Linked DNA regions of Homo sapiens: regions 2 and 3 are each linked to region 1. The links are contacts of gene promoters, found by promoter capture Hi-C in blood cells and fetal thymus (Javierre and others, 2016). All regions are on one chromosome and are shown on one strand. Each heading gives the region's core, a stretch centred on a gene start or on the middle of the fragment in contact. The rest is flanking DNA. Distances are from core to core; before and after follow the strand shown.

Region 1 (3,396 bases), core at 246-2,745:
CTCTTTGAAAAATCAACTAAGGTGCACCAGCTGAAAAATCCTTGCTTTTGCATGCCAATATGAAAATATTTTTAGAATGGTGACTATGCTAGTTTACACTGCTTTAATTTAGGCTGAAAAGTAGAGGATCTAGATATGTCTACTACTCAGAAAAGAAAGGGAGAAAGCACACAGCACAAATAAGGCATCAGTATTTACTTCAAAGATCAACATTAGGTGGAATTAATAAGTAATTTATTTGTTAATAATGGCGTAATTAGTGTACCCATCAAATTTCAATTACCAAATAGCAGGCAACAGTCTCCTCTCCCTCCTTTCCGGAGCTTCTGATATCGTTAATACGCTAATTTTCAGCAATTCAGAAATTATAGACTGTCCTGCAAATATAACTCTAGCCTCAGATACTGCCTGAGAAAGCAGGATCTAAAAGAGAAAACATGAAATTCTTAGCTGGAAAAGACCCATCAGCGATCAGACCCGGCAAGGTGTTTATTCTACCCTTAGCTTGTTTTTGTTTGGGGATAGTTCTGAAATAGGAAGTTATTGTTTTCAAAGCTCGGTTCTGTGGAGGTGTTGCTTCTATCCATTCCCATCCTTGGGCCACCTTCTCTCTCACAATCGCACCTAGTAAATGCGGGCATATTTAGCTCTCACATCGACAACCCCCGTCAAATTAGATGCTATTACGAAGGTTCCAATTTTTCTTAGGAAAACACGAAACAGATTGTCTCTGAAAGAAGGAAAAAATGAAAAGTGTCCATCCAGTTATAATGGAATGGCCTCGATTTACATCCTTGGGTCGATTTCTCTTAGCTGCCCGCCCACCCTTTGCAGCTTCTGCCAAGCTTCTCAAAGCAAGGGCTCTCAGGCTGACACGCAAGGAGCAGGGTGTGGGGAAGGGGGATCTGCGGTTGAGAAAATGTGTCTGGTGGCCTCTCAGTGGCGTACATAAAAACCAGGATGCCCCTCGGTCCCAACGCCCTTCCTTTCGCCTGTTAGCCTAGAACCCCTGAAGGACACGAAGCCTGACTGGGTTGCGCCCGAGGTCAGCGCTGAGTCGCGGCCGCCAGACAGCCCGAGGCCTAGGCCAGCAGTAGGGCAGGCAGAGGGCTCCCGAGAGGACCTACAGCCTGACAGGGCCTGAATTCCCAGCGGGAACCAAAGCTGGGGGGCTGGGGTCCAAAGCTCCTGCTCCCTCCCCCAGCCCAGGGGCCGGACAGCAGCATCCATCACGCACCCGCGCGTTTCCTGATCCGGGTCCGCGCGCGCGGTGCGCCCATTGGTGGGGGCGCTGCACGTGGGGCACGGGGCGGGGCGCGCGCTGGGCTGGGGAGGAGCGGCTCGAACTTTGGTGGCGGCGTCTGCGGGAGGGGGAGGAGTGGGCACTTGACAGCGGGGGGAGGGGAAGGGCGCAGAGGAAAGGGGGATGGGAAGCGAGGCAGGAGGGGGAGGGGCCTCGGCAAGCCCAGAAAAAACGACAACGCGAGAAAAATTAGTATTTTTGCACTTCACAAATTAATGACCATGAGCTCGTTTTTGATAAACTCCAACTACATCGAGCCCAAGTTCCCTCCCTTCGAGGAGTACGCGCAGCACAGCGGCTCGGGCGGCGCAGACGGCGGCCCGGGCGGGGGCCCCGGCTACCAGCAGCCCCCAGCGCCCCCGACCCAGCACCTGCCGCTGCAGCAGCCCCAGCTCCCTCACGCGGGCGGCGGCCGAGAGCCCACTGCCTCCTACTACGCGCCGCGGACCGCCCGCGAGCCCGCCTACCCTGCTGCCGCGCTGTACCCCGCGCATGGGGCCGCGGACACCGCCTACCCCTATGGCTACCGCGGCGGCGCCAGCCCCGGGCGGCCGCCCCAGCCCGAGCAGCCCCCGGCGCAAGCCAAGGGCCCAGCGCACGGCCTGCATGCGAGCCACGTCCTGCAGCCCCAGCTGCCGCCGCCCCTGCAGCCTCGCGCCGTGCCCCCAGCGGCCCCGCGGCGCTGCGAGGCGGCCCCCGCCACCCCAGGCGTCCCGGCAGGGGGCAGCGCCCCCGCGTGCCCGCTGCTCTTGGCCGACAAGAGCCCGCTGGGCCTGAAGGGCAAGGAGCCCGTGGTGTACCCCTGGATGAAGAAGATCCATGTCAGCGCCGGTACGTGGCGCCGCTTGGGAGGCGCGGGAGGTGGGCCGGGGCTGGGCCTGGGTTCGAGGGTCGGGGTCAGGAGGGAGAGGCTCAGGGGAAGGGGGCCTCGGGAGGGGAGCCCCCATCTGACCCGGGCTGCGGTGAGATGTGGGTATGTGCGCGCCAGCCAGCCGCCTGATCCCAACATGAGAACCCTTTTGTACCCAGGGTCCCTTTATCAGGAGATTTACGAGACGCCAAACTGTTAGGGCAGTAATTATAGCCCCCATAAATTTAATTGCCCTGGCAGAGGCTTCAGGCCATGTGTCTTTGAAGCTTTTCTTCAGCCCCAATGCCCAGCACCATTCTTTATGGCTCTCGGGTGTTTCCCGTTGTCAATAGCCTGTGAAACATTTTCTTTGCCGTTTTATGTATCTTGCGTGAACTTGGTGTCAGGTTATTATATAATGATGATGTCCAATTGCTCTTCCCCACCCCACCTTCTCTCTCCTCCTCCTTTCCCTCTCTTCCGCTCCCTCCTCCTTGGCCTTCTATTTCGGGGTTCTGGGTTTTCAGTTAACCCCAGTTATAACGGAGGGGAGCCTAAGCGCTCTCGAACCGCCTACACCCGGCAGCAGGTCTTGGAGCTGGAGAAGGAGTTCCACTTCAATCGATACCTGACCCGGCGGCGCCGCATCGAGATCGCCCACACGCTCTGTTTGTCTGAGCGCCAGGTCAAGATCTGGTTTCAGAACCGGAGGATGAAGTGGAAGAAAGACCACAAACTGCCCAACACCAAGATGCGATCCTCCAATTCGGCCTCGGCCTCTGCCGGCCCACCAGGGAAAGCACAAACTCAGAGCCCACACCTCCATCCCCACCCCCACCCGAGCACCTCCACACCCGTTCCCTCCTCCATATAATCTTCTAGAGATCTTAACCAGTTTCTATCCCTTACCTGCTTTTCTCTTCTCTTCTCCTGCTCCGTTCCTCATCCACCCCTCCCCATCTGGACCATAATAGACACCAAAACAAACCCAAATTGGTGAAAAGAATAATCAAAAAGAAGACATTATCCGGTTAAGAGTCTGTGCTGGTTGCCACCCAAGAGAGAACAGTTGTCCAGGATGCTGGCTGGTGGAACAACCTGCTGGCCCGAAACAAGGCTGCCAGGTGTGGATACCTGAGAAGGACTACTTGGTATCAAATACTTTTGAGATGGCTACAGTCAGCTAGCTGGACAGCCCATGCTGAGTGGGGACATACACTTGCATCTTTGTTGAAAGCAGAAG
Region 2 (3,396 bases), core at 594-3,093, 420 kb after region 1:
CTACTATAGCTATGTTAACATCAGATAATATGGAATTTAAGGCATAAAGCAATAATAGGACTACAGATGACACTACATAACAAAAATGAAAGAAGATAAAGCTCAAATTCATCTAACTATATAACCCTAATATCTATAACACGAAAACATATAAGACTAATTTGACAAGTTCTTAATCATAGTGGGAAATTTTAAGATACCCCTTTCAAAAACTGATAGACCAAGGAGGCAAAAAATAAGTAAGGATATAAAGATTTAACCACAAAATTAATAATCTATCAAAAAGATATAAAGTAACATTGCATAGTAGAGAATATTTGTTCATTCAGTACACATAGAATAATCATAGAAATTGACTACATATGTGTTCACAGTTAAACTCTCAACAAATTACACTGAATCTGTGTTATACAGACTATGGTCTTTAACTACAATTAAATTTAATTAAGAGCCAACTCTGAAAAGGTAGTTGAAAATACCCAAACCCATGTGTTTGGAAGCTGAAAAAATAATAGTTCATGAGTTAAAAGAGGAAATTACAATGGAAATGACAAAATATGTAGTTTTCCATATGAAATACACTGAAATTAGTACAAATAACAACTTGTAGCATTGTAGCATTGTTGTTAACTCTTTTTTTGGGGGAGGGAACAGAGTTTTGTTCTTGTCACCCAGGCTGGAGTGCAATGGCATGATCTCGGCTCACTGCACTCTCCACCTCCTGGGTTCAAGTGATTTTCCTGCCTTAGCCTTCCGAATAGCTGGGATTATAGGTGTGCACCACCATGCCTGGCCAATATTTTAGTATTTTTAGTAGAGACGGGGTTTCACCATGTTAGCCAGGCTGGTCTTGAACTCCTGACGTCAGGTGATCCACCCGCCTCGGCTTTCCAAAGTGCTGCGATTACAGGCTTGAGCCACTGTGCTTGGCCATGTTATTAATTCTTTGGGGAGAATTAATCCCCAAAGAACTGGAGATGACAGAACTATAAAGGCTATAAAATCAACATTATTTACAATGATTCAAGGATAAAATAAGGAAAAGAAACTTTAACAAGAGAAAAAGATCCTGTAAAAAAAAGATCAGATTTTTTTAAAGAACCAAATAGAATCACTAGAAATTATTGATGGTTTGGATCACTTAGCCATTGAATTCAAAACTTTTAGAGTCACATACATATGTTTACATTGCTGAGGGAACCAATAGAATACATATTAAAATTCTGAACCAGAAGATAAGCAAATGTCAACCACTTTAATCAAATTAAAATGCTAATATTTGTAAAGAAAAAAGAAAAATTATGTTAATGGGGCTAGGCTTTTATGTTTTTTCTGTGAATCCTGGATGAAAAATCCTAACACTGTACCAGAAGGTCAGATATTCACACGATAGGATTTGTATCTGAACATAATCAAGTGTTTTATCCTTTGCCACCAAGAAATCTCAACAAGTAAAGACATAGCTTCTAACAGTCTTCATATCAGACTTTTAAACTGGAGTCTTCATTCTTCAGATATGATTTGTCTCCCATATAGAATATAAACAGATCACAGCCTGCTTTTGTTTTTAATTCATCCATTCTTTCAGAAGATAGAATATGATAAAGTTTGTAGTAGCTTCACGAAAATGTATTTGCTTCTTTAATCCCAGAAAAAAAAATACACACATATGTACACATAGCCACACGAACACATACATCTATAGAGACAGACTGCAGCAAGAGAGTATCAAGCTTCACTATTTTTGCAGATAGGTCAGCTGGGAATATCAACTTCCTAAGAGTACTCAGCTGCTTACTTTAAAGCAGTGATTAATAAGAATGAACAAGTTCAACAAAATGTCAGTGATAAATATAAGCACTCTTCATATCTGGCCTCGGCAAGTGCTACAGCTGAGTAATGTAAAACTTTCAACAAAATGGGAAAAAATCCAATTTAACTTAATCAAGCTTAAGTGAAATTTTACCTTAATTTTGTTTCAAATAAAACATTCGTTTATAGATGTTTTCCTCTTTATTAGAACTTCATTAGAATTTTTACGAAGAAATAACAACTGCTTATAGCCACTTATCCATTAGCCCCTTTGTTCCTTATTAAAGAAGTTAAGATGGGGCAGTTTTTTTAATATATATAATAAGGACATTCAGTTGCAAGGTCTGAGTTTTTTGGACTAGATCCCAAATCTGCCTCCTGCATGGGCCTCTTTTCACATCCTGGTTCAAGGAACTACAACCTAATCGTGCTTCTCTTAAGCACACAAATTCTTGGAAGAGCTCCCTTTGTTCCTGTTGTCTCTTCACCTGCTTACTCTTTATCCTCAGGCAGTTTGGTTTTCTATCCTCATTCCTTAACTAAACCAGCTTCTTCAGAGTCACCAGTACTCTCCTAATCATCAGTCTTGGTCCTCAAATTCATCTCTAGAAATTTGATTTTACTTACCACCGCTTTTGTCTTGAAACTGTCTCCACCTTTGCCCTTCTCCAGTTTGTTTTCTTGTTTACATATTATATTTACAAATAAGCATCTTAGGTCGGGCGCGATGGCTCATGCCTGTAATCCCAGCACTTTGGGAGGCCGAGGCAGGTGGATCACGAGGTCAGGAGATAGAGACCATCCTGGCTAACACAGTGAAACCCCGTCTCTACTAAAAATACAAAAAATGAGCTGGGCGTGGTGGCGGGCACCTGTAGTCCCAGCTACTCGGGAGGCTGAGGCAGGAGAATGGTGTGAACCCAGGAGGCGGAGCTTGCAGTGAGCCGAGATCGCGCCACTGCACTCCAGCCTGGGCGACAGAGCGAGACTCCATCTAAAAACAAAAAAAAAAACAAAAAAGAACAAATAAGCATCTTAGCACTGTATTACATTTCCACATTTCCTGTTGCTTTTTACTGATTGTTTCAAATTATTTTCCAGTCTATCCTTTCCTAATACTGAAGCTTTTTGTTTTTATCTTGTCTTACCTTCTCCTCATGTCATCTTATTATTATTCACTTAATTAACTCATCCAGCAAATATTTATTGAAAGCCCATTGCATGTCAGATTCTGTTCTAGGTGCTGGGAGTTTAGGCATGAAAAAGGCAGACCTAGTCCCTATTAAGATAGTTACAGATTGTAGTAGGTGACACAAGATAAGAGGATAATGTGAGAGGGAGTAAATGATGTGTATTCTATGGTTAAAGAAGAGATGACATTTAAACTGAAGCCTTTTGGATAAATGCAAAAAGCCAAACGAAGCACTTTCCAGGCACAGTGAACACCAAATTCAAAGGCTCTGAGCATGGACAATCCTGGGGTGTTCAAGAACCAGAAAGGAGGGCCATATGTAGCCAGGCAGAGAGGTTAAAATGAGATTGGAGAGAAGGGCAACAGCCAGGTTAAGCAGGGCCTTCCTAGAA
Region 3 (3,396 bases), core at 406-2,905, 290 kb after region 1:
ATGAGATTTACAACCTTAAAGAATATCCCTTTCTGTACACTTTAAAATGTTTAGGCACTAAGGTGGGTAGATATAGAGTAGACTTTAGACACCATATAATTACTTGGGTTTCCATTTTTCTATTCTGAAATCATTTTTCATTCATTTTTGTCATTTGTGAAAGAAAGCTTCTAACTATATAGCACTATGGAAAGTCTCTAAGGTAAGGTGAAAGGATTCAGTGAGCTAGAAGACATATATTGGCTCTGCCCCTCGACGATAGGTCGAAGGATCCCAGTAGATGTATGTTACAAATCTGATTCAGTCCTAGACCATAATCACTTTGTGGATAAAAATCTGAAACCTCTAGGGTGTGAATACAGGAAGGCTAAAATGAAGCTGAAAATATAGAACAGTCATTTATTGTCCTGGTGTCTTTCTAACTAAAAATTTCTGAATAACCTAGGTTACTGAAAGGCTGTGGGCATTGCGAGACACAGGTTTGTGTGAAGAAATTTTTTTTTAGGAATGGAACTATTTTTTAAATCTCAGGGATTAAGAAAAAGGCTGAACTATTATCATAATTTATAATATTAAAAATTTTTTTTGGTATACTTTTCTTTACAAAAATCCAATGTACAAAAATTTGGATTAATAAAGCATGTAAATCATTTTTTCCAACAGATTTCTTTAGAGAGATTGTCTCCAGGATGCCTATAAATAATTAGCTCTTAGAAAGTGTCTAAAACAGGCTTAGATATAAACCTGTCCGTGTGCACAACATAAATTTAATGTACCAAATTTTTGAGGAAGACTTTTTTTGTGTAAAATTAGGTGTAGCACTAATCAGTTCTTACAAAAGCCACGAAATAGATGTTTTACTTTTCTCTCATATCAGTAGAGTATGAAACAATGTTTAAAACTGGAAAAAAAGGTTTTTTTCAATAACTTAGCATTTAGGATAACTATGAAACAATGTTTAAAACTAGAAAAAAAATTTTTCAATAACTTAGCATTTAGGGTGTTTTTAACCCACTATCATATTTTTGACACCTAAAATTATCTTTTGTATTTTGTTCTAAAAAATTCAATTAATTTGCAATTTGCACATATTTTTGCATATATAACATGTATCAACATTTCACTTTTGTTTTTAAAATTTTTGGGTTGTCTTAATATGCCAAATTGCTAGCTTATATATGTTTTAGCAGTTTAATAACAATGATTATTTTAGTCATTGTGCTATGTGTATAGCACAGTTTCAAGTATTTTGGTGGAAGAGAAGGGATTATAGTTGAGGAAATGACAGAAAGTAGAGGACATATTTTTAATCCTCAAGGTATATATTGTGCAATTGGGGATATAAAGTACACAGATGTAAAATATTTTTGTGATACAAAGGTATATATTAGTAAATAAAACACATAGCCATTGAGAATTATCTTTCTAAGTTTTTATGCTATTGATCAGGAAAATTCATCAGAATAAAACAGAGTGGACGGATGATACTATAACAAAGTGGACTAGATACGAAAGACTGCAAAGGTTAAGTAAAACTCAACATTATGAAAAATAATGCATCTTTAATTCAGCAAATTAGCAGTTATTTACACAGTACATGAAGAGGAGAACAAGATACTTGGACAGGGCAATTGGGGGTGAATAAGATAAAGTTCCTATTTTTAAGAAAAATGTAATCTAGATGGCAGGAGAAGATAATCACCTAGAATAAGGTAACTAGCAATCTAGGTTATATTAAACCAGATTCCAAAAATAATAAATACTACGTGCTACAATATTCAATTGATTTAGTCTATACCAAGGCAAGTAGTTGGTTTCATTGATTTTACTTCCTGATGTATTGGCTGAATCAGCCATATGTTTTAGCATCCTGTCAAAAAAACCACAGCATAAACTTTATGCCTAAATTCTAAGAGATTGTGGAGGGAGGGCCTTTTATTTAAGTGAGTTTTATGTGGGTCTTGAGGTTTGTTGCAGAGAATGGGAAAACAAACTGAAAAGAACTTTTGGAGTTCAAGCTCAGAAACCAGGTTTTCATTATAATTGATGATAACTTTTTTGTCAAGGACAAGTTGCTTAGGCCTTTTTGGATTTTTATTTTCTGGTATGTGAAATGAAGAGTTTGAACCGGGTAATTGCTTAGACGTTCCCTAGAGCACTAAATGCTTGTGTCCCCACATTTCAGAATTAGTAAATTGAATGGTGGCAGTGAGGTGAGGTGATCTGCATGGGGAAGATATGGGTGACGACCAGAGGTGGTATTGAATAGGAAGGAGTGGAGGGGGTCTTGGAGGTAGGTGCATGATTTATAGTAGGAGCTGAATGCCAAATTAAGGAATTTACCTTTGATTTGGTAGTCATTAAGAGATCCCTGAAGGAGTATACTGAAGTGAGGGATGCAGATTTGAGGGATATTGTCCTGGAAGTTAAATGTAGGTTAAATGAAGGCGTAGAGACCATCTAGTGGAGGTAGCAAGCTAAATGCTTTGCTACATTACTTATTTTTAATCATGACAGTATCTCTATGAAGTAGAGTACTATCACTATTTGACAAATGAGGAAACCTAAAATAGAGAGGTTAAGTGATATGCCCAATGGCATATAGCTACATAGTGGCAGAACTGGAATTTGAATTCATGTCTGTCAACTGTAAGGATTATGCTCTGCTCTTAAAAGAGTTACTTTTTCCCTCTTCCCCAGCTAGCATACTGCTCTGCTGCTTTTGATTAAGGGAGTGTTGATAAGACTCTGGGCTAGAGAGGTGGATATTGTACTGAAAAGGAAGTGATTTTCTAGCCCTTTCCTACTCAAAGTATGGTCAGTAGACCAACAGTATCAGCATCATCTGGGAGCTTGTTAGAAACGCTAAATCTGTCTCCACCTAATATAGTTTGGATATTTATCTCCGCCCAAATCACATGTTGAATTGTAATTCCCAGTGCTGGAGGTGGGGCCTGTTGGGGGGTGTTTGGATCATGGGGCAAATCCCTCATGGCCTCGTGCTATCTTCGTGACAGTGAGTTCTTGTGAAATCTGGTCATTTAAAAGTATGTGGCACCTCCCAACCCCACTCTCTGTCTCTTGTTCTTTTACCGTGTGTTGTGCCTGCTCCCGCTTTGCCTTCCACCATGATTGTAAGCTTCCTGAGGCTTTCTCAGAAGCCAAGCAGATGTCCAGTGCCATGCTTCCTGTACAGCCTTCAGAACCATAAGCCAATTAAACCTCTTTCTTTTTCTTATTATTATACTTTAAGTTCTGGGGTACATGTGCAGAGCGTGCAGGTTTGTTACATAGGTATACATGTGCCATGGTGGTTTGCTGCACCCATCAACCCATCATCTACATTAGGTATTTCTCCTAATGCTATCCCTCCCCTAGCCCCCAACCCCCTGACAG

What was found. The method cuts DNA at HindIII sites, captures the fragments that hold promoters and counts their contacts. A CHiCAGO score of 5 or more calls a contact.
Region 2: a contact is called between a fragment that was not itself captured here and the fragment with the promoter of HOXA4 in region 1, in 1 of 17 cell types (megakaryocytes). The highest score is 7.2, in megakaryocytes.
Region 3: a fragment that was not itself captured here is called in contact with the fragment with the promoter of HOXA4 in region 1 in 1 of 17 cell types (neutrophils); the score reaches 5.0 in neutrophils.

The regions. Positions count from the first base shown.
Region 1 is chr7:27,128,856-27,132,251 of GRCh38, reverse strand. HOXA4 (homeobox A4) reads left to right here and starts at 1,495. Exons shown (of 2, transcript NM_002141.5): 1 at 1,495-2,134; 2 at 2,681-3,396. The coding sequence starts at 1,519. The coding sequence ends at 3,027. The region is part of intron 2 of HOXA3 (homeobox A3); the gene reads left to right. RefSeq lists a silencer at 1,268-1,337. The HindIII fragment of the contact is 1,595 bases long and covers 848-2,442 here.
Region 2 is chr7:26,713,031-26,716,426 of GRCh38, reverse strand. All of the region lies in intron 9 of SKAP2 (src kinase associated phosphoprotein 2), which reads left to right. Among named protein-coding and RNA genes, the nearest start is that of LINC02860, 77 kb to the right of the region's middle. The HindIII fragment of the contact is 216 bases long and covers 1,736-1,951 here.
Region 3 is chr7:26,837,179-26,840,574 of GRCh38, reverse strand. The region is part of intron 4 of SKAP2 (src kinase associated phosphoprotein 2); the gene reads left to right. The region is part of intron 2 of LOC124901606 (a long non-coding RNA gene); the gene reads right to left. Among named protein-coding and RNA genes, the nearest start is that of SKAP2, 26 kb to the left of the region's middle. The HindIII fragment of the contact is 2,972 bases long and covers 170-3,141 here.